Regions from separate parts of the Homo sapiens genome. Here regions 1, 2, 3, 5 and 6 are each linked to region 4. The links are contacts of gene promoters, found by promoter capture Hi-C in blood cells and fetal thymus (Javierre and others, 2016). All regions are on one chromosome and are shown on one strand. Each heading gives the region's core, a stretch centred on a gene start or on the middle of the fragment in contact. The rest is flanking DNA. Distances are from core to core; before and after follow the strand shown.

Evidence for each region. Contacts are between HindIII fragments. The CHiCAGO score rates a contact against its expected background, and 5 or more counts as called.
Region 1: a contact is called between a fragment that was not itself captured here and the fragment with the promoter of SPZ1 in region 4, in 1 of 17 cell types (neutrophils). The highest score is 6.9, in neutrophils.
Region 2: a fragment that was not itself captured here is called in contact with the fragment with the promoter of SPZ1 in region 4 in 1 of 17 cell types (neutrophils); the score reaches 5.2 in neutrophils.
Region 3: the fragment with the promoter of FAM151B here is called in contact with the fragment with the promoter of SPZ1 in region 4 in 4 of 17 cell types (neutrophils, monocytes, M2 macrophages and 1 more); the score reaches 8.9 in neutrophils.
Region 5: a fragment that was not itself captured here is called in contact with the fragment with the promoter of SPZ1 in region 4 in 11 of 17 cell types (neutrophils, M0 macrophages, M1 macrophages and 8 more); the score reaches 14.3 in neutrophils.
Region 6: a contact is called between the fragment with the promoter of ANKRD34B here and the fragment with the promoter of SPZ1 in region 4, in 5 of 17 cell types (erythroblasts, monocytes, naive B cells and 2 more). The highest score is 7.4, in erythroblasts.

What each region holds. Positions count from the first base shown.
Region 1 is chr5:80,120,497-80,124,340 of GRCh38, forward strand. It overlaps a transcript of SERINC5 not described here. Among named protein-coding and RNA genes, the nearest start is that of THBS4-AS1, 39 kb to the left of the region's middle. The HindIII fragment of the contact is 6,557 bases long and covers 1-3,844 here.
Region 2 is chr5:80,140,674-80,144,576 of GRCh38, forward strand. SERINC5 (serine incorporator 5) reads right to left here. Exons shown (of 12, transcript NM_001174072.3): 12 at 1-3,137. The coding sequence ends at 2,990. Among named protein-coding and RNA genes, the nearest start is that of THBS4-AS1, 59 kb to the left of the region's middle. The HindIII fragment of the contact is 1,012 bases long and covers 1,863-2,874 here.
Region 3 is chr5:80,486,153-80,490,260 of GRCh38, forward strand. FAM151B (family with sequence similarity 151 member B) reads left to right here and starts at 1,948. Exons shown (of 6, transcript NM_205548.3): 1 at 1,948-1,996. The coding sequence starts at 1,972. FAM151B-DT (FAM151B divergent transcript) reads right to left here and starts at 1,794. Exons shown (of 3, transcript NR_172938.1): 1 at 1,626-1,794. RefSeq lists enhancers at 1,552-2,053, 2,054-2,553 and a silencer at 2,218-2,512. The HindIII fragment of the contact is 15,498 bases long and covers 1-4,108 here.
Region 4 is chr5:80,318,210-80,322,158 of GRCh38, forward strand. It overlaps SPZ1 (spermatogenic leucine zipper 1), which reads left to right and starts at 1,793. Exons shown (of 1, transcript NM_032567.4): 1 at 1,793-3,633. The coding sequence starts at 2,007. The coding sequence ends at 3,299. The HindIII fragment of the contact is 2,056 bases long and covers 1,162-3,217 here.
Region 5 is chr5:80,100,223-80,103,849 of GRCh38, forward strand. No RefSeq gene overlaps it. Among named protein-coding and RNA genes, the nearest start is that of THBS4-AS1, 18 kb to the left of the region's middle. RefSeq lists silencers at 1,902-2,031, 2,042-2,111. The HindIII fragment of the contact is 2,694 bases long and covers 687-3,380 here.
Region 6 is chr5:80,569,030-80,572,955 of GRCh38, forward strand. ANKRD34B (ankyrin repeat domain 34B) reads right to left here and starts at 1,251. Exons shown (of 5, transcript NM_001004441.3): 1 at 1,125-1,251; 2 at 1-78. The HindIII fragment of the contact is 11,841 bases long and covers 1-3,926 here.

The sequences.
Region 1 (3,844 bases), core at 1,345-3,844, 200 kb before region 4:
ATATTAGGTTATAATATAGTTGCTTTAAAGAAATACCCATGGCCAGGCGTGGGGGCTTACACCTCCCAGCACTTTGGGAGGCTGAGGCAGGAGGATCACTTGAGGCCAGGAGTTTGAGACCAGCCTGGCCAACATGGTGAAACCCCATCTCTACTGAAAATACAAAAAATTAGCCAGGTGTGGGGGCAGGCGCCTGTAATCCCAGCTATTCGGGTGGCTGAGGCACAAGAATCGCTTGAACCCAGGAGGCAGAGGTTGCGTGAGCCGAGTTTCAGGCTGCACTCCAGCCTGGGGGACAGAGTGAGACTCTGTCTCAAAAAAAGAAAAGAAATACCTGCATTGCTATAAAGAAATACCTGAGACTTTAATTTATAAAGAAAGGAGTTTTGGAGGCTTTTTCTTTTTTTTGAGACAGAATTTCGCTCTTGTTGTCCAGGCTGGAGTGCAATGGCGCGATCTTGACTCACTGCAACCTCCGCCTCCCAGGTTCCAGTGATTCTCCTGCCTCAGCCTCCTGAGTAGCTGGGACTATAGGCATGTGCCACCACACCTGGCTAATTTTATATTTTTAGTAGAGATGGGGTTTCTCCATGTTGGTCAGGCTGGTCCCGAACTCCCAACCTCAGGTGATCCGCCCACTTTGGCCTCCCAAAGTACTGGGATTACAGGCATGAGCCAACGCACCCAGCCAAGAAAGGAGTTTGTTTGTTTGTCTGTTTTTCCAAGAAAGGAGTTTTAACTGGCTCATGATTCTACAGGCTGCACAAGCAAGGTGCTGGCATCTGCTCAGTTTCTGGGGTGGCCTAAGGGAGCTTTTACTTAAAGCCAGAGCAAGCATCTCACATGGCAGAGTAGAATCAAGAGTGAGAGTTGGTGTGGTGGTGAGGAATCTCAGGATGACCTCCCTGAGATTGCTGTCCCCTAGTTATTCACAAAAACTCACTGACTATCACAAGGTCAGCATCAAGGCGTGAGGCATCCACCCCCATGACCCAAACGCCAGGCCCCACCTCCAACACTGAGGATTACATCTCGACATGAGATTTGGAGGGGCCATCTAAACTATATCATACACTTTTGGGATCTATTTTACAACTAACCTATAGTCAGTGTGTTAATCCATTTTGCATTGCTATTAAGAAATACCTGAGACTGGGTAATTTATTTTAAAAAGAGGTTTATTTTGCCTTATGGTTCTGCAGGCTGTACAACCATGGCACCAGCATCTGCTTCTGGTGAGGACTCAAGAAACTACCAATCATGGCAGAAGCAGGTGTGTCACATGGCGACAGAGAGAGAAAGAGAGGGGGAGGAGATGCCAGGCTCTTTTAAACAACTAGCTCTCATGTGAACTTAATAGAGTGAGAACCCACTCATTACCTCGGGGAGGGCACAAAACCATTCATGAGGGATCTGCCCCCACGACCCAGACACCTCCCACCAGGTCCCATCTTCAACCCTGGGAATCACATTTCAACCTGAGATTTGGAGGGGACACACATCCAAACCATATCAGTCAGGAAATGTTCACCCCCTTTCTCCACCTCCAAATAACAATTACACAGTACCCAGCATCTGTGCAAACATTTTATTCTATTCACAATTCTCATATGGTGTAAATTGCAATCTCTCTGTAGTAGGACAAATTCTAGGGATGACCTCTGTATTAGTCAGGCTTCTCTAGAGGGACAGAACTAATAGTATATATATATATATAATATGAGTTTATTAAATATTAGCTCACACGATCACAACGTCCCACAATAGGCCATCTGCAGGCCGATCTGATGTCCAATGTTTGAGGGCAGGAAGCATCCAGCACGGGAGAAAGATGTAGAGTGGGAGGCTAGACCCATCTTTCTTTTCACATTTTTCTGCCTGCTTATATTCTAGCAGTGCTGGCAGCTGATTAGACTGTGCCCACCCAGATTAAGAGTGGGTCTGCCTTTCCCAGCCCACTGACTCAAATGTTAATCCCTTTTGGCAATACCCTCACAGACACACCCAAGATCAATCCTTTCAATCCAATCAAGTTGACACTCAGTATTAACCATCATAACCTCCCTGAGAAACACAAATCTAGGTACTCCTGTGAAGGGATTCTGCAAATGTAATTAAAGTTTCAAGTCAGTCAACCTTAAAATACAGAGATGATCTGGGTGATCCTGATCTAATCACAAGAGCCCTTTACACAACAGAAGGGGAATTCGGAGAGATTTGAAGTATGAGGAAGACTCAAGTGCCATTGCTGCTTGAAGATGGCAGCACCACGTGAGAAGGAATACCTCAAGGAACTGAAAGTGGCCCTTGCCTAACAGTCAGCAAGGAAAGAGGAACCTCAGACCTACAGCTGTAAGGAACTGGATTCAGCCAATAATTGGAATGAACTTGGAAGCAGATTTTTCTCAGTGCCTCCAGGTAAAAGCTCTGCAACCAATACCTTGATTTCCAGCCCTGTGCTATTCCTGAGCATAGAAATCAGGCAAGCCTGCCTGGACTTCTGACTACAGAACTGTCCACTAATAAATTTATGTTGTTAAATTTGTGGTGATTTGTCACAGCAGCAATAAAAAAACTAATACATTCTCTTAATCTGTTTTGTCATCAATTTTTCTTTGAGACGGAGTCTCACTCTCTTTCCCAGCCTGGAGTGCAGTGGTGTGATCATAGCCCATTGTAACCTCAAAATCGTGGGCTCAAGCAGTTCTCCCACCTCAATCTCTCGAGTAGCTAGGACTACAGGCACATGCCACCATACTTGGCTGATTTTTTTAAAAAAATTATTTTTTATGTAGAGATGGGGTCTCACTATGTTGCCCAGGCTGGTCTCAAACTCCTGGCTTGAAGAGATCCTTCTATCTCAGCTGGGAGGATCCCAGGATCCCAAAGCGCTGGGATTACAGGCGTGAGCCTCCATGCCTAGCTTCCTCACTTATTTTTTATTAATAAAAAGTGACATGGGGAGATGGTGGAAGTTAGAGTGATGATATCTGAGTATGCTCTTAGCTTTACATTTGCTCAGTTCCTTGTGCTGAGTTGTCTGTTAGGGAGCTTCCTGCCCTTATAGTGAGAATGTGACATAGTCTGGGCATCAGCTGCAGCTCTTTGAACAGAGATGATCCAGCTCCCCATCTCACCAGCCCCCAAATCCAAAACTTAAAAGCGGAGCTGCTGTCAAGGAAAACAAAGTTAAGCAAAATGACTTCAAAGCCCAATGTGCTCACCTTCACTCTCCCAGTGGGTCCTTGCACCTGAGAACGTGCAGGGTCCATCAGTATTGACCTCCCCTTTCCACCAGCCCTGGAAGTTATGGAAGGGGAAGGTAGCTTATTCTGATATCGTGTCCTGTAATAATGCTTCCTGGCCTGGCACATATATCCTTGTTTCTGTGCCTCTTGTTCTAAAACATCCTCCCTTTCCGAAAGCTGAAACTGTTCCTGCACACATTATGCACTTAACCAGGTAAATTTCAGAAGATTTTAAAAAGTTTCCCAGTGAAGGAAGGAGAGAGAGGTATTGTCCTGAGATACTGAATATGCGGATGGCCAGACTAGATATCAAAATAGAACCCTGACCCACAATCTGTGGCAACTAGCCTGGGAAGCCAACATATTATCTGCAGTAACCAATCCAGGAAGCAAAGCAATAACCCCCTTAGCAATGGACCCCAAATGGCCAGGACTCGATTAATAAACTGACAGCTCCCATAATTTTTGCCCCTACCTCCAACTTTGGACTAACCAGAGAAAGCCAAATGGGCACCCCCAACCAATCACATAGCATGCCGCACTTCTAGCTGGCCCACTTGCAGCTTCCCCGTGCCAACAGTCTCAGGGCACGCCCA
Region 2 (3,903 bases), core at 1,119-3,618, 180 kb before region 4:
CTAGTCTCCAGTCAGGTAACATGCCGCGGTATGACACTCCCATAAGAACCCCCACCCCCCTGCCACCCACTTAGTGTTTTTACTCATAAAAATGAGGGGAAAACTTTTCTACATCAGACAAATCACACAGAGGAAATATTCACATGCAGCTTTAAAAAAGTCCTCTTCAACTGTCATCCCTAAATGTGTCTGACCAGCAGCTTCTGGGAATATACTCTTTAGGTCATGTACAAAAAGGTGTAGGAAGCAAATGTCTATTATTTTTAAAAGATATCAGTGAGTTAATCAAATTAACACCGTTGTTATAGGAACTCAAAGCCATTGGCACAATGTTTCCAGTTTCTCAAATCACAATTGCACAAAACTGTAGATTCTTTAAATCCAGGAATGTTGACTCCTCACCTGAGTATTGTATATCACAATTAATAACCATTAACATTAACTCTGCATTGATAGTCCCTCAATCCTCAGATACATCCACATCTGTTTTGTTCATCCAGATACACGTGCTAACATTTTCAGCTGAGAATAAAATTCAGAGCAACTGTAACTCTTCCTCTTGCATCAGACCAACCGGCAGAAGGGAACGGGATGTCACAAACCAGACTCACGCATCTGGAAAACGTTGTGTGGCTGGGCTGGCTCCAGAAGGAAGCGACGAGGGCCTTCTACCGGCCACACTCCCTTGCTTGGGCTTCCCTAAGCTGCTTTCTGCAGAGGAAAGGGCCAATCACGGCCAGCCAAGGAATACAAGGCCTTGTCAGCTGGACCTTGACTGCGCGTAAGGTCAGTTTCTCAAATCACACCAGCTGGCAGCCAGACCCAGCCGAGAGGACAAAGCAAGGGCTCTGCTAGACCTCAGCAGGAGGAAAACAATGAAACTAGTCACAATACTGCCCAGGCTCTTTACCTGCTTCCCCTCAGGGTGTTTCCTAAAGACAACCCCCAAGGCCCTAGGCCACTGCAACACAGCTACTGTGTGTGACACGCAGCCCCACTCCCTGAGCCCATTCCTGGCCCACGGAACTCCTGTCCCCTAACTGATTCCTCAGGTTAGAACACGGCTTTTCATTTTGCGACTCCAGATGAATCTTTTAACTGCTGAGTACAGAGCTCCTGCCCTAAAAAAGGAAATTTAATGGAATTTACAAAACAAGGCTCTCTAAACCACACACACAGATGGAGTGCCTTTTGAAACTGAATCTCAAACACTCTAAGTAGGGAAAGTTCTAAAGGAATTCATCCCCTGTAATTTGTTTCCCCATGGGTTTTCTTGGGAGAAGGGCAAAGGAATGAATAGAAAGAATTTCACTAATTTCACCCACCAGCATTTTGGCACACAGAAGCCCAGCTTAGGTGGCACTCAATTCTGCCCAACTCATACAGTAGGGCACAGAAAAAAATGACTAGGCTGAGCCTTTTATTCTTAGATCCTCACTTACAGAGAGCTCGAGAAGATTCTTTCCACCCCGAATGAAATTCTAACAGGAGTTTCCACCAAGTAAACCTTTTCCCTGCCTGAATACATCAACACTGAAAATAGGCATCATCTTGGGTAGCTGCCGAAAGTCACGTTTCTGTATTACTTTGCAAGTACGTATTTTGGAAATTCCTGTGCAGCGTGATCTCGGCTCACTGCAACCTCCGCCTCCCGGGTTCAAGTGATTCTCATGCCTCAGCCTTCGAGTAGCTGGCATTACAGGCACACGCTACCATGCCCGGCTAATTTTTCTATTTTTAATAGAGACAGGGTTTCACCATGTTAGCCAGGCTGGTCTTGCAACTCCTGACCTCAAGTGATCCGCCTGCCTCTGCGCACCTCTTTTTAAGTATATTCGGCCACTTCCACACATTGCCTAACAAGCTTCTTCTGGTCAGTGTGTCTGAGATCCTCACCTCAGAAATTCTCACATTAGCAAACCTACTCCAAGGATGCCAGCATGAACCTGAACGGTATGGTCACGTTACAGATCCAGAACACAAAACGACTTCCGCTTTTACAGTTTCAAAGGCCTCAAGGTGGAGAAAAAACTGAGGGGCTGACCTCAACAACTGAAAGAGCAGTGCATGCAGCAGGCTTCAACACGAAGCAGCTTTTCAGTTAAGGTCCTAAAAGTATTATCATTATCAACAGCACAAACAAGTAAGAATGATAGCCCTCCATTGCTTAGGCAGAGAAAACATGAATCTTGTTCTATAATCATGTGAATAACACCATAAATAAGCGCCGTACTTATTGCAGTAACTCGGATCAGGTAGTGATAATAAGGTGGGGAACCACCTGGGGGGTGATCAGACAAATTGTGCTTTTTCACATTATTACAAAGATGTGGGACCCAGAAAAGATGAGACCTCGGGGAAGGGTGCAGGCAGAGAGTGAAGTCTGTGATTCCCAGCATCACAACCTCAAAGGGAAACGTTTAGGGGCCGTGAAGAGGCAGCACTGAGGGTGCAGTTGAAAAGCAGGTGCCTCCTCTTGGACCCTATAAATACCAGGGGCCCTGCAGGCTGAGTCCTGTCCTCAAAGCCCCCTGGGGACAAGGCTCTAAGAGGCGGAAGTGAGTGAGAGGGGTCTGGATTCTGTTAGGCGCTGGGGACTCAAGATTTTGGCATGTTTTTCTATTCCGAGGATGAGAATGACTGGCCCCACAAGATATTTTTATCCCTGTGAAAAGATGCTGTGCCCCAAATTCTGTTTTGGCAAAAACATGCAGAAGGAAGTCAACATAACTGGTATCCAGTTCCTAGGGGTAAGATATTTCAACCATGATCAGTTTGGTTGAAAATTTCAATTCCTTTGGGACAAACTGGTAGTTTCTTTTTGAATTTCAAAAGTAAAAAGCTAATCAGGAGATTTTTTTTTTTCTCTCTCAAAGCTTTTTCAGACCCACTCAGGCACAGGGCGCCAGTCCCTGCCCCGGGGACACTGTTCAAAAGATGGCACTTTCCAGGCTGTAGGCCCACAAAGCCCAGGGGACCGCCGATATCATCACACAGAGAACTCCCGGGTGGGGCAGCAGAGGGGAGCGACCAGCGTACACAGGTACAACAGCACGCATATCCAGCAGGAGGCCATCTTGACCCAGAAGATGGACCAGCTCCCGCTGAAGAAGCTCTCGATGTTGGCACTTTCGTAGCTGTGGAAACAAGACACCTAGCCGCGGTCAAAGCAGGAATATATTGAGATACAATTCACTAATTCACATCCATTTATAATGTATAATTCAACGGCTTTCAATGTATTCATACACAGACTTGTGCTACCATCAACACTACCCATTTCCAAACATTCTCATCACCCCCAAAAGAAATCATGCACCCCTTAGGTGCTCTCCCCTTCCCCATGGCCCCCTCAGCCCACCCCCCGCATTCACCAATCTACTTTCTGCCTCTATGAATTTGCCTATTCTGGACAGTTGATATAAAAGGAATCACATGGTCTCTTGTGTGTGGCTTTTTTGCCTGGCATACAATTTCCAAGGCTCAGCCACGCGGCAGCATGTGTCAGTCCTTCATTCCTTTTTACTGCTAAATAGTATCTTATTGTATGGATAGAGCACATTTTGTTTAGGCAGTCACCAGCTGATGGTCATTTGGGATGTTTCCCCTTTTTGATTATCACCAATGATGCTTGTATGAACACCGCTGTGTAAGTTTTGTGGACCTAGTTTTCTTTTTGTCTTAGGTATACGCTCAGGAGTAGTGGAAGAGCTGGATTACATTGTAACTCAATGTTTAATTGTTTAAGGAGATGCCAAACTCTTTTCCAAAGCAGATTTCACATTCAAACCAGCAATGTAAGAGGGTTCCAATTTCTCCACTTCCTCGACATTTGTTATTATCTGCCTTTTTAATTATAGCCTTCTCCATCTTTTCTTAAGCTTTCCAAGCCAAAAATTCCCA
Region 3 (4,108 bases), core at 698-3,197, 170 kb after region 4:
GTGGAGGTTGCAGTGAGCCGAGATCGTGCCACTGCACTCCAGCCTGGGGGAACAGAGTGAGACTTCATCTAAAAAAAAAGAAAAACAAGTTTTTTAAAAAAGACCTGTACTGCAATCAATGCCATCAAGAAAGTGAAAAGACAATCTGCACAACGGGAGAAAATATTGCAAATATTTGCAAATTACCTGTTAAGGGACTTGTATTGAGACTATATAAAGAATTCTCACAATTGAAATGAGCACAGGATTTGAGAAGACATTTCTCCAAAGGAAATATATAAATGACCGATAGCACCTGAAAATATGCTCAATATTATTAGTAGGGAACTACAAATCAAGATAATGAGGTAGTACTTCATATCTACTAGGATGGCTATAATTTAAAAAACATAACAACAAGTACTGACTGGTAAGGATGTGGGGAAATTGGAATCTTCATACATTGCTGGTGGGAATGAAAGATGGTACAGCTGATTTGCAAAACTGGCAGTTCCTCACACAGTTAAACAGTTACTATATGAACAAGTAGTTCCACTCCTAGGTATGTACACAGATATGCACACAGGAATGTATTCATATACGTCCACACAAAACTTGTCCATGAATGTTCACAGCAGCAGCATTCATAAAAGACAAAATGTAGAAACAACCCGAATGTCCTTCAGCTGTTGAATGGACACACATAAAATGTGGTATTTACAAACTGGAATTTATTCCAGCATAAGAAGGAAGGAAGTACTGATACATGCTAAAACATGGGTGAATTTTGAAAACATGCTAAGTGAAAGAAGCCAGTTACAAAGATCATACATACAGTCTGTGATTCTATTTACATGAAATTCCAGAATAGGCAAATTCATGAGACAGAAAGTAGATGAGTTGTTGCCTGGGGGTAGGAAGGGGGTAAATGGAGAGTGATTGCTTTGGAGTGATGAAAAATATTTTATCTGAAAGGCTGGGCAAGAATAACTCCCCTTTGTATTACGTGTCAGGTGATGTTAGTTATCCTAACTCTACCACTGGCAGATTGAGTTTTTTGGTCACAGAAGCTGAAAATGGCAGAGCTTTGTTGTTAATTCTGATCACTAGTTTGGCTTCAAAAAGTAATGAGTTAAGGAGGGCTAGAAAGACAGTGGATGGGAGGACCCAGTTGCTGAGAGCGTTTTCTGAGTGAACACTGGTAGAGAGACAGAAGGGGAGAGAAAACTTCAAGTTATCAGCTCGGTAACTTTGTACAAAAACTTATTTATTTATTTATTTATTTATTTGACAGTCTAGCTCTATCGCACAGACCGGAGCGCAGTGGAGCGATCTCGGCTCTCTGCAACCTCCACCTCTCCGGTTCAAGCCATTCTTGTGCCTCAGCCTCCCGAGTAGCTGGGATTACAGGCGCGCGCCACCACGCCAGGATAATTTTTTAAATTTTCAGTAAGGACGGGTTTTAACCATGTTGGCCAGGATGGTCTCGAATTCCTGACCTCAAGTGATCCGCCCACCTCGACCTCCCAAAGTGCTGGGAGTACAGGCCTGAGCCACCGTGCCCGGCCAGAAACACTGATTTTTATCAGTAATGATTCCACACCCTTTTAGGATATTACTAACATTTAAAAGAAAATATACCCAACTGTTGAAATTCGTGCTCCACTCCAGCAACTGCTTTCAATCGGAGTTCCATCCTCCGCCGCAGTATGCCCTAACGCAGCGTTATCTTCAGAGCTACCACCAGCTTCCGAAACCTTTCGGAGGAGCGCTTCGCCACCACCTGCACGGCGAAGCGGCGCGTAAACGAACCTCGAACGCCAGCCTTTGCGCCTGCGTGCCGCGGCTCCGTTTGGTTCCGCTTCGCTGGCGCCCGCCGGGCTCTTCCCCCGCCGAGGCCTGTGGTTTGTGGAGTCGAATTTCCCTGCCACCAGTGCCCGGTTAGCAGGGGCGCCAGCCTGGGCGCCTGCGCGGACGGCGGGCGTCGTCACCATGGCAGCATCCGCTGGAGGCCCAGGTAAGCGCCGAGCGCGCGGCCTCTGCCTGGAGGTGGGGCGCTTTGAGAGGCTCCGCCGGCCGTACCCTCCCTTTGCGGGCTCCCGCGGTCTTCCTTGCTAGGGACCTGGGAGCGCGCCGCGCAGAACCGGGCGGCTGGGCTTGGAGCCCGCTCTGCACTCGGGGCGCGCCCGCGATCGCCTGGCAAGGACCTTGGTTTGCCGGGTGGGCTCTAAGGGACAGGCGTTAGGGGAGGTCGAGAATGGCAGGGTCAGTGTCTTTTGAGGTCTGGGTTGGAAAGAAAGGAATGTGACGTTTCCCTAATCCTTAATTTCAGCCGACCGTATGGGGGCGGTCTGGGTCAGTAGGTTCCTCTTTGAAAGCTGGGGGAGGTTTGGGAATGCGGACTGGGCCGGGCCCGGCATAGTCCCGCTGCTGAGCGCGCTGCCTGGAAAGCTGGCAGAGTGTGCGGCTCGCTTGATTCCCCTTGGAATCAGGTGCTTCAACTCGCGGGACAGCAGTTCCGCTCTTGAAGGTTACAGTATCTTTTCTGTAAACTTAAGTAGTGGCATGAGACAACGTCAGTGACGCGTTCTTTCTTCAGTTTAGATTTTTTTCCCTAATTGTAAAAATAATACACGCTTTCACCATTCTGACTAGCAGGCTGTATAAATACAGGTTCTCTTCTGAATCGATGCACAGTTTACAGAATCTTGGAATAAAATGTGTGTGTAAGCGAAAAATGTCCAGGTCCTGATAAATGCCATTATAGAACATTTATAAAGTATATTAGTATAGGGAAATAGGAAAAAAAAATCCCCCAAATGCTGATACCCACAGGCACCACTACTAACTTTTTGGTATTTTCTAACAACCCTGACTCTTAAAAATAGAGTTAAGGTCATGGTAAACATAATTTTTAAAATCCTGCATCTTATACTATCCCATGTCACCAAGGTTTTTATAAACATAATTTTGAATGACTGAAGTGTTTTATACAATTATATTGTATACAATTATATTGTAATTAACCAGTCTCCTAATGTTGAACGTTAATCAGTCGTTTCCTGTTTTGTTTTGTTTTGTTAGAATTCATTCTGTAATGAACATTTTTGCATTGTTCTTCCTCAGTTATGTTTTTGGTTTGTTTTTATCCTGGACACGATTCTTGTAACTGAAATTACTGGATCAAAGGATGTGAACTTTTTTCTCTCTCTCTTTTTTAAGATCTGTGCTAAACCTCCGTAGAACATTTTTTCAGACCAGAGTTTTCCTTTTTTAACCCTTGTGCTCTTCTCAGTATAAATCCTTTTAATGCCTAGTTTTCCTAAGAATCCAAACAAATCTGGGACAAAGCTCACACTCAAGACTTACACCATTCTCACTCACAGGCTGTATAAATCCAGATTCTCTTCTGAATCGATGCAAGGTTTACAAAATCTTGGAATAAAATGTGTGCACAAGTGAAAAATGTCCAATTGCTGACAAATGCCATTTTTTAAAAAACAAATTTTTGGGCCGGGCGCGGTGACTCACGCCCGTAATCCCAGCACTTTGGGAGGCCGAGGTGGGCGGATCACGAGGTCAGGAGATCAAGACCATCCTGGCTAACACAGTGAAACCTCGTCTCTACTAAAAATCCAAAATAATTAGCCGGGCGTGGTGGCGGCGCCTGTAGTCTCAACTACTAAGGAGGCTGAGGCAGCAGAATGGCGTGAACCCGGGAGGCGGAGCTTGCGGTGAGCCAAGATTGCGCCACTGCACTCCAGCCTGAGCAACAGAGAGAAACTGTCTCAAAACAAAAACAAAAACAAAAATTTCTTCTCATTACCGAGTTATTGATAAAACTAATTCTTAACCAGATTCTTCCGTTATATGTCATTTTTCCCCCTTACACACACACACACACACACACACACACACACATTCTCAACATAAAAAAGTTCAAAAGGCACAATAGGATGTATAGTGAAAAGTTCCGTCCTGGCCGGGCGTGGTGGTTTACGCCTGTAATCTGAACACTTTGAAAGGCAGGAGGATCGCTTGAGCCCTGGAGTTTGGATCAGCCTGGGCAACACAGGGAGGCCTTATCTCTCCAAAAGAAAACAAATAAATTAGCCAGGTATGGTGGTGG
Region 4 (3,949 bases), core at 543-3,042:
GGAAATAAGAACCAATGCTGAACTTCTAAGATGGAATTAAAGCATAAGGACAGTTGCTAGCATCTATGCTGTCATTGTGTGAATTAGAAAAGGAGTTCCTTTTTCAAGTAAAAGCAGAGACCAACCCTGCTGTATCTGTGAGTAGTCAGTGACGATGGCCTGGAGCCCAGCTGGCTGAAAGATGAGCATGAGGCTCTGGGGAATTAGAGCCAAAATGAGTTGGTAACTGGAGAAGAAAGAAAACATATAAATTTCTCTTCTCTAGGGGAAAAAAAACCTGAGTATGAGTTTTCCCTTAAGACTGGAAGCAAATTTCTATTAAAGTGCTTGCTAGCAAGATTTTGAAGGCCAGGAAAAAGTCATACACAAGAAATGTTTCTTTGATTGAGTTCTATATTCACAAGACCTGACTCCTAAGAACAAAAAGACAAGAAAGCAGCTTATTAAAATGCAAGAAGTTTAATAAACTTGTTACTTTCTATAACCCACTAGAGAATTTACCTGTTTCAAATGCTTTTTATTTTTTAATTTTTAATTTCTTTTTTTGAGGCAGTGTCTTGTTCTGTCACCCAGGCTGGAGTGCACTGGCACGATCTCAGCTCACTGCAACCTCCTCCTCCTGGGTTCAAGCAAGTCTCATGCCTCAGCCTTCTGAGTAGCTGGGATTACAGGTGTGTGCTGCCATGCCCAGCTAATTTTTGCATTTTTAGTAGAGATGGGGTTTTGTCATGTTGCCCAGGCTGATCCTGAACTCCTGGCCTCAAGTGATCTGCCCGCCTTAGCCTCCCAAAGTGCTGGGATTACAGGCATGAGCCACTGCACCTGGCCAATTTTTTAATTTTTTGTGATAGATCTTGCTGTGTTGCCCAAACTGGAGTGCACTAAGTAGCACAGTCATGGCTCACTGCAGCCTCAACCTCCCAGGCTCAAGTGATCCTCTCGCCTCAGCCTCCCAAGTAGCTGGGACCACAGGCACACACTACCATGCCCTTCTAATCAAACACTTTAGAAATATAACTATGTCATTTTAACAAGTTACTGTGTAGAGTGTGGAAATCTTAGGGGATCAATAAAAGAGCCAAAAAAAAAATCCCCAAATAAGTTACTGTGAAAAGTAATAGTCAAAGTTTTCTATCACCTGATGTAAATGATTTGTGAGTAAGCTTGCCAAGCCTGTCTTAAAGGATGCCTATATTCAAAGCCAAGAAAAGTCCCAGTTTGTAATTGTGTTGCTATTATAACCATTCAGATAGTCCCTTCTTGGAGCAGTAGAATATTTTTGAATGGAGGGACTCCTGACATTACTTTCCTAAAATCACAAAAGGCTGTCACTCTCAGGGTTTTGTTTTGTGTGGATAACTTTCTCTTACAGTCACATCTCTCCTAGAATGGGAGCAATAGAGCCTCTAGGTGCTATGAAAGGATGGGGACCTCACCAGAGAGGACTGGTCTCAGCAATGTCCTTAAGTGGTCAAAACATGCTGCGGTTGAGGTCAGGATTGTGAGGGGATAGAGGTGACGTAGAGAAGTAACTGAGTGCATTTAGACTGAGATGAATAGCAACCTAGAAATTAAGGAGGGGAAGAGCTATTGTAGAGCTCTTTCTGGCATGAGGAGTAGGGATAGCTCAAGGTTGGTTTTGATGCAGGAGTCACTGGGCAGGAATTTAAGAGGCTTCCATTGTGACACAAAGGAGACAGACACTATGGATAGGCCACAATGGTGCAGTGACAAAATAAAGACCTGGTTGCTAGGGCCAGAGAATAAACACCGGGTGCCTAGAGGAGAAGAGATGGAGCCCCAGCCTTGGTCCCCTTTCCCACCCTTCCTCCCCACAAGGCTGTCTGAGATGCCACCTTCCACCTAAACATCATCTCCCAAATTTTAATCCTTAACTTTGGTCTCTGACTTCTGCTTGATTCCACAGTCTCCACCCACATTTGCACAAAGGACCATCACCTGTCCTTCCTGGAATCTCTAAAGTTTTCTGCTTTCCTTCTGTCCTGATGGCCAGCTCTGCTAAGTCAGCTGAGATGCCCACCATCTCCAAAACCGTTAACCCTACTCCTGATCCTCATCAAGAATATCTGGACCCTAGGATTACCATTGCCTTATTCGAAATTGGATCACATTCCCCTTCCTCCTGGGGCTCTCTCCCTTTCCTAAAGAATAGCAGCCATCAAGTTACAGAACAACAGACTGCACAGAAGTTTAACAATCTCTTAAAAGAAATTAAAGATATTCTTAAAAATATGGCAGGTTTTGAAGAGAAGATCACAGAAGCAAAAGAACTTTTTGAGGAAACCAATATTACTGAGGATGTGTCAGCCCACAAAGAAAATATCAGAGGACTTGACAAAATCAATGAAATGTTATCAACAAACCTGCCTGTTAGTTTAGCCCCAGAGAAAGAAGACAATGAAAAGAAACAGGAGATGATATTGGAAACCAATATTACTGAGGATGTGTCAGCCCACAAAGAAAATATCAGAGGACTTGACAAAATCAATGAAATGTTATCAACAAACCTGCCTGTTAGTTTAGCCCCAGAGAAAGAAGACAATGAAAAGAAACAGCAGATGATAATGGAAAACCAGAACTCTGAGAACACCGCACAAGTTTTTGCAAGAGATTTGGTAAATCGTTTAGAAGAAAAAAAAGTCCTTAACGAAACTCAACAAAGTCAGGAAAAAGCAAAAAACAGACTTAATGTTCAAGAAGAAACTATGAAAATTAGGAACAACATGGAGCAGTTACTACAGGAAGCAGAACACTGGAGTAAACAACATACTGAGCTCAGTAAACTGATAAAATCCTATCAGAAATCTCAGAAAGACATAAGTGAAACTCTTGGAAATAATGGAGTCGGTTTCCAAACCCAGCCAAATAATGAAGTGTCGGCTAAGCATGAGCTGGAGGAACAGGTGAAGAAACTGAGCCATGACACCTATTCATTGCAGTTGATGGCAGCTTTGCTAGAGAATGAATGCCAAATCTTACAGCAGAGAGTAGAGATTCTCAAGGAACTCCATCATCAGAAACAGGGAACTCTGCAAGAGAAGCCAATTCAGATAAACTATAAACAGGACAAGAAAAATCAGAAGCCATCAGAAGCAAAGAAAGTAGAAATGTATAAGCAGAACAAGCAAGCAATGAAGGGTACATTTTGGAAAAAAGACAGATCCTGTAGAAGCCTGGATGTTTGTCTTAATAAGAAAGCTTGCAATACCCAGTTCAATATTCATGTTGCAAGAAAAGCTCTTAGGGGAAAAATGAGGTCAGCTAGCAGCCTAAGATAGAAAATACCAAAAGCAGATGAAAAGGTGAATCCTTAAAAAACTACATCTGTTACCTCCAACTTGTCAGTCATGATCAATCATCAAACCTTGGGCAGATCTGCTGGTTCAACCAAGAAAGAGCTATAGAATAAGGAGATTGACACTTATATTACTCATTACTTCAGCAGTTATGTAAGTCTGGTCTTTAATGACCATTGTGTCTACATCAAGTTCATAACTTTTCACCTTTACAATCTGCTTGTTTTTTTTGTAATTATTAGATAGACAGCCTAGAGTGAGAAGTTAAAGGTCCAATTAAGTAAAGATCTAAATAAAAACCAGAATACAAGGGAAATTTTTTTTTTCTTTATTTAATCATTGCCTGGGGGCAGGGGGAGTTCTGGGGGGAAAAAGTATATAGTGTTTTTGGCCAGGTGCAGTGGCATTTTGGGAGGCCAAGGTGGGAGGATCGCTCGAGGCCAGGAGTTTGAGACAAACCTGAGCAACACAGCAAGATCCCATCTCTAAAAAAAAAATTAAGTGAAAAAAAAGTACATAATGCTTTAGTTGTGACCTTTTAAAGCTCCCTTTCTAAATGTATGTTTCCTTTTCCTATTATACACTGAAGTGTGGGATGTGGGGGAATTTAAAAAATGCTGATAATCCAACCC
Region 5 (3,627 bases), core at 784-3,283, 220 kb before region 4:
ACAGATATGCACCACCACGTCCAGCTAATTTTTGTATTTTTAGTAGAGATGGGGTTTCACCGTGTTGTCCAGGCTGGTCTCGAACTCCTGACCTCAAGAGATCCACCCATCTCAGCCTTCCAAAGTGCTGGGATTACAGGCATGAACCGTCGCGCCCGGCCAATTTTCCCAGTTCTAGATGAAAGAATGTTCAACCACACCAATACTCAAAGATAGACAAATTCAAATAATAAGGTTAAGGTGTTATTTTGTACCTTTATAACAACAAACAACTATAAAGAAAATACTCAAAAATCAAGTGCTGGCCAGGTGCAGTGGCAGACACCTATCATCCCAGCACTTTGCAAGGCCAAGGCAGGTGGATCTCTGAGCTCAGGAGTTCAGGACCAGCCTGGGCAACAAGATGAAACCCCATTTCTACAAAAAATTAGCCAGGCACGGTAGTGCGCCTGTAGTCGCAGCTACTCAGGAGACTGAGGTGGGAGGATGCCTTAAGCCTGGAAGGCCAAAGCTGCAGTGAGCTATGATCACACCACTGCACTCCAGCCCAGGCAACAGAGCAAGACCCTGTCTCCAAAAAAAGAGTGCTGGGAGGGTTGTACTCCTGTTGCTGCTGCTATGGTACCTGTATACACTACCATTAGAAATTTGGCAACACACAGGAAAGACTGATGAAAACACCCATAAGCTTTTGACCCGGTAATTCTACTCCTCAAATTTATTCCAAAAAAATAATTTAGATGGAAATAAAAGTCACATGTAGAAAGATATTTATAGCAAACTTTTCTCTAAGAGCCAGAAAAAAAAAAAAACAATGTCCAAAAAAACAACTGGGAAATTATAAGCAAATATGGTCATTAGCTTAATGGAACATATAAAATAATGAAAAGCATTAAAATAACATTTAGGAAAAAATGTGGAAGGTGGAAATCAACATGATGATGATTGTCAATTGTGGGGTGATAGGGTGGGGATGCCCAGGGAACTTTCAATTCGCTTTTTATTGCCTCACTTTAAAAAGTGAGAGACCAAATAATCAGAACAAAAGCAGCTCAGAGGAAAGAGAGAGAAACTATAAAGGATCAGAGGATCCCTCAAACCAAAATGAAACAAAACACTATAAATAATATCCTCTATGAAATATGAAAAGATATGCATCCACGAAAGAGAAACAGAAGAGGATGGGGTGTAATCAGAAAACATGAAAGAAGGCCTGGCATGGTGGCTCACACTTGTAATCTCAGCACTTTGGGAGGCTGAGTGGGGCGGATCCCGTGAGGTCAGGAGTTCGAGATCAGCCTGGCCAACATGGTGAAATCCCATCTCTACAAAAAATACAAAAATTAGCTGGGTGTGGTGGTGCACACCTGTAATCCCAGCTACTGGGAGGCTGAGGCAGGAGAATTCCTTGAACCCGGGAGGCAGAGGTTGCAGTGAGCTGAGATCGTGCCACTGAACTCCAGCCTGGGAAACAGAGCAAGACTCCCATCTCAAAAAAAAAAAAAAAAAAAAAAGATAGAGTTATTGGAGATGGAGTTATAACAACTGAAGTAGTAAATTCAACAGAAACTCTGGAAGATAAAGTAGGCTAACTATCCAGAAAATTGAACAAAAATAAATAGAGAGATAGAAAATGGGAGAAAAGATGACCAATCCAGAAGACCCAATATCTACCTAATAGGAGTCCGCTAAGAGACAACAGAGACAATCTCCAGGACAGAGAGTGTAACTGGCCAAGCCAAAGGCATGTGCCCAACCCATGGCTAGGTAGGAAAGGGAGGATCTGGCCCATTTGGGTCTAGAAGGAAAGGGCACTGTCTCCCCCCACAACCCAGGAGTATGGTCCCCCAAAAGGAAAAGTAATAGATGCTACTAGAAAATGAGGGTTAGATGATATACAGCCAAGAGCTACCACTGTCCACTGCACAGGAACCTCTGTTGACTCCTAGTAACCACACCTTCTTCTCTAAATACTCATAGAGCACTTTCAATAGGATTTTTGCATCCTGTCAAATGCAAAACCTCCCTCTCTAGGCCTGTTGTGCATTATCATAGCTGAGATGTGTACATCCTACATGCCAATTGTTTCTCATGAGTTATCTCATTAAAGCCTTACAACAAAGCAAACAAGAAAATCATCTTAATAACCCCAATTATAAATCAGGACACTACTGCCCAGAGCGGTTAAGAAGCATGCCCAGCTTCACCCAGCTAATAAAGAGATTCAAGCCAGGATTTGGACCTAGTACCCTGACCATGGAGCTCGCACTCTTATGCCACAGGACTTTATGTACCTCTCCCTGGAGGCTTCTCGGTGCCTCCAGTGACCCCGATGCCTCACTGCCTTCTGGACCCCAAAGAGGATCTAAAGTAGGTCGTCAAACAGCCGTGAGAGCCTCCATTGAGCCACACACCCCGAGTTTTCTGCATGCAGCCCAGCACCTAGCTCAGAGAGTCCCTGGCATGCTTGGTCACCCTAGGAGGTCCATTAGCCCTCCCAAGTCACCAGGGTGCTGGGAGCCGCCACTAGATCTCAGCCCTCCTTCACGTCACACACCTCACTCAGGGGCTGTCCACAGGCTTGCTCTGGCTGTAGCATGGGAACCCCTGCTCCTTCTTATCTGGTGCAAGGAGCCCAGGGGATGCCTTTAAGGAAGGTCAGCCCTGTCGGTGAGACATGTTGTGCAAAAGGCAGGTTGACTGGAGAAAAGTCATACACGTTTATTTCACATTTATACACAGGATCCTTCAGAATGAAAACCCAAAGATAACGCGGAAATTGGCCATACTGATGCTTAAGATTAACGAAGTATGAACAGCTATGTACAAATGCGACTGGACAAAAAAAGGGTATGATCTAATGCTGATAGACTGAGCTGGGAGATTCAGTGAGGCCTGTGTAGATTCTTGGCCTCTCTGCACAGCATCCCTTTCTTCTGTGTGTGGGGCAGGACCCTCTCGGGAATGGGGGAATTATGACCTACAGTCAAACAAGGTAAGTCGGATCATTTCTTTATGGCCAGTTTTTACACAGAAAGGCAGAGGGAAAATAAGAGTAATATTTTTAGGATTTATGGCTGGCTTTGGGGAAAAGAGGTTCTGGTTTCTATGGGGAAGAGGGATTCTAGTTTCTAAGGCTAGACTAGGGGAGAACGCGCCTGAGAGAAAGGAGGGCAGGTATGCAGAGAAAAACTTTTAACTTCTGAGGCTTTCATTTTAGAGTACTCTTTTCTGAGTCCCAACAGTGGGAAGCCAGAGGAAGCAGAACTGTACTTGTGAGAGCCCCCAGACAGCTGGCTCTTCCCCCACGCAGCAGCAGTCAGGCCCCAGAGCTCCTCTTGCACGACAGCACAAGGGCAAAGCCTGTCTGGGCTGGTGGAAGCTTCCGTGGGTCTGGCTGTATTGGGGGGAAGACCTGTCTGGGAGCCTCTTCAACTATTTATCTGTTCTGCCTTCCTCCCCCTTGCTCCTGTCCTTTGAACGCTAACCTGGACACAGAAGCTCTCAGCATTTAGGAGGCCTTAATTGCAGCTCCATTTAATGTAAGATCTCTTGAAGTGGGTCCCAATCTTAGGCCACAAGTTCAGGTGTACAGAAAACAAACCATTTCTCTTTGTCTTTTTTTTT
Region 6 (3,926 bases), core at 1-2,500, 250 kb after region 4:
CACGGTCCCCGCCGACCCCTGGAACCAGGCGCGTTTCCTCAGTTTTTCCTGAGAGCAGGAGGAAGCGAGCTCAAGGCGCTGTCGGAGAAGGGCAAAGGAAGGTGACTGGGGCGACAGCTCCAGGGCACCGATGGGGGCGGGGTGCGCGTTTCGTCGCCTCATCTCTGAGCCAGGGCAGGCAGCTGGCGGGCTAAGGCGATCACCATCCATGAAAACGGGTTCTGCCCACAGCCGCTGCGGAGCGGTCCCTGCGCCGCTCGCCCGCCGGCCGGACGCGGCCCTCCCTTGGGAAATGGTGCGTCTGAGGGGCGCAGCCACTGCCCCCATCCCGGAGCAGGCGCACCTCTGCACCCGGCTCTCTGCTAAGGGGGTCCGGTATCCTGGTGCCAAGGCTGTGCGCACCTGAGAAGGGCGGGAACCGGCTGCCCGCCCCTGTGTGGCTCCTGGAAGCAGGAGCTCCTGGAAGCTGCAAAGGGCTCCGCAGTCCCCAGCCCGCCCCCAGCGCCCAGCCGGCACCTCCTGCTGCCCAGCTGCCGAGGCACCTGCGGAGACGCGCCCAAGTCAGCCCCTCCGGAGACGCGCCCAAGTCAGCCCCTCCGACCCGCGCGCTCTTGCGGCCCAGCGCGCGCCGCTCCCGCTGCTGCGCCGACCTTCGCCCATCAGGCCCCCCGCCCCGCATCCTCCTCGACACCCCGCGGCCGGGCAGCCCTCGCCGGTTCCCGCCGCTCGGCGAGGCTGAGAAGGAGGCGGAACCCGCATCCCCGCGGAGTCCAAGCCCCAGCGGCCGCAAAACTGGAACCGAGAACCAGTGGGAAAGGCAGGAGGCGCGAGGGTGAGCTCGCGTGGAGCGCGCCCCGGGGTGGCGGGGCAGAGTCTCTCGGGAGGCCCCTGCAGCCCGGCGGCCCTCGGCTGGCCCTGGGTCTCTCATCCTGCTCGGGGCACTGCAATGTCAGGGTGAGCGGGAGGTGCGGGCTTCAGGGGCTTGCGCGCACCGGGCAGGGAGCACTGAGGCCGTGCGGGCCGCTGGGTTCCACGCTGCGCCCTCGATGTCCTCCTCCCGGCAGCCGCCACTGCAAGCCAAAGTTTCCCAAGTGCAGCCGGCAGGGACGGCGCCTCACACTGACCTGGGACGCGCTGTCGAGTTGGCGGCGGCGCTTTCAAACCTCTCTCCGGCACTGCCCGACCCTCTGTGCGGCCCTAGGGCGCCGTCTGAGCTGAGCTGTGGTCTTCGGCTCCTCGGCGCCTCGAATCGCAGATCTCGGTAGATGCCGCCCAGTCCCCGCCCTGCTTGCGGAAAGAGGCGGGCGACTGCCGCGAAGCGCTGGAGCTGGGACCCGGAGCGCACACCTCGCCAGACGCCCGGGCAGCGAGGCGCTTCCGCTGGGGGTGACGCGTCGGCTCCAGGCTCTGCGCAGGTGAGGGCGGCAAGGCTCCTCTGGACCCAGGGGGGCCAGCAGCTGCTGGAAGCTCCGCCTTCTGTCCCCGTAAGTCCCACCCCCGTCCCCCGCTTCGGCCACCGCGCTTCGGCCACGGCGACTTGGCCAACAACAGCGGCAGCAGGGTCTCCCCATTGAGGGAAGCACGCACCCCTACGTCACGGGCTTTGGCTCCTCCAGTCCGTATCCCTCCCCTCAGCTCACATCCACCCGCTGGTTCATGGGTCCATCTGTCCCCACCGGTCCTTCCACCCCTCCGCATCCCTGTACCCACTTCAGGTAAAGCCAGAGCCACACTTCAGGTTGGGGTGTTAGTGGGAACAACCGTTCTTATTTACGTCTTTAGGAATTTATAAGGTTATTATGCTATTATTAAAACATGAATAAACATATTAACAAAATTTCGAAAAATACATTTCATATGTTAAACTCTACTGAGAGATGAAAAGGAAATGAAGCAGAAGCAACTTTTTCTGTCGTTTTTAGTTTTTGGTTTTTTTGAGACGGAGTCTCATTCTGTCACCCAGGCTGGAGTGCAGTGGTGTGATCTCGGCTCACTGCAACCTCTGCCTCCTGGGTTCAACCGATTCTCATGAGCCAGCCTCTGGAGTAGCAGGGATGACAGGTGTGCACCATCACGCCTGGCCAATTTTTGTATTTTTAGTAGAGATGGGGTTTCACCATGTTGCCCAGGCTGGTCTCGAACTCCTGACCTCAAGTGATCCACCCACCTCGGCCTCCCAAAGTGCCGGGATTACAGGTGTGAGCCACAACGCCCGGCCAGAAGCAAAGTTTTTAACTCTTCATTTATCTTGGAGGGTCTGGTGGAGAAAGGCCATCACTATTTTTGTTATTCAGATAATGTCAATCAAAACTTGTTTATAGTTTTGAGTTCTCGGGAAAAGTAGATTTATCTCTGGTCAGGCTTCCTTTATTAAAGAAAAGATCTCTCCGAAATGAGGACCTAAAGGGTCCTCATTTAGTAAACATATGCAAAGCAATTGCACAGGGTGCTTTACCCCAAAGTTAGGCTCTAGGGAGTTTGAATCCTATATCTGGGCTGCCCTTTGCCTACAGCTGTTTGTTTGGAGGTTACCAGGAAGACTGAGCCAATTTGCATGAAGGCACGGGGCTCCTCCCCCTTACCACCTCCGACTGTTCTCTTAAAAAAATTTCATCAATGTGCAGTGTACCTATTAAAAGGCAAATATTTTGGCTGAGTGCTGTGGCTCATGCCTGTAATCCCAGCACTTTGGGAGGCCAAGGAGGGTGAATCACTTCCAGGTCAGGAGTTCAAGACCAGCCTGGCCAACGTGATGAAACCCCATCTCTACAAAAATACAAAAATTAGCCAGGTGTTGTGGTTTATGCCTGTAATCCCAGCTACTGGGGAGGCTTGGGCAGGAGAATCACTTGAACCCAGGAGGCAGCAACTGCAGTGAGCCGAGATAGTGCCACTGCACTCCAGCCTGGGCCACAGGGCCAGACTTCATCTCAAAAAAAAAGACACACATTTCACAAGTCCGATGATTTTGCACAAAATGAGCATCATCCAGATCAAGAAGCAGAACATTACCAGTACCCTCACAACACTCCCTCTTCAGATTTCTCATTGGAGGGAGTGGTGGCTTCAAACAGCATAGAGTAGTTTTGTTTCTTTTTGTACTTTATAGTGATTGAATCACTCTGTTGACTGGCCTCTTTCACTAATAGTATGATTAAGAGATGCATACTGTGTGTGGCTGTAGTCTGTTTATTCTTTTTGCTGTATAGTATTCCGTTTTGTGATTGTGCCTCAATTGCTTATTCATTTTACTACTGATAGACATTTGGGTAATTCTCAGGTTTGGGACATTACAAATAATGCTGCTATGAACATTAAAATAGATGTCTTTTGGTGACCATATATACTTATTTCTGTTGGGTACATACCTAGGAGTGGAATTGTGAGTCATGATGTAGGCATATGTTCAGCTTCTGGAGATGCCACCAAACAGCTTTTCAAAGCAGATGATCCAATTTTCACTTCTACTTTATTAGTTTTCTATTGCTGCTTGTTACCACAAACAAAATCACCACGAACTTATTGTGGCTTAAAGAACACAGATTTATCCTCTTACAGTTCGGGAGGTCAGAAGTCCAAGTTGAATTTTATGTGGTTAAAACCAGAGTCTCAGCAAGATTGCATTACTTTTGGGGGTTCCAGGGGACAATCTGTTTCCTTGCCCTTTCTAGCTTTTAGAGGCCATCTGCATTCTTTGGCTGGTGGCCCCTTCCTCCATCTTCAATATCTGTCTCTCCCTCTCTCTCCCTCCCTGCCCTCCTCTCCCCACTGCCACGCTTCTGTTGTTACATGTCTCTCTCTCCCTCTGCTTCCTTCTCTCCCTCTGACTCTCCTGCCTCACTCTGGAGGACCTTTGTGATGACACTGGACCCACTTGGATGATCTTCCATTTCAAAATCCTTCATTTAATCACAGCTGCAAAATTA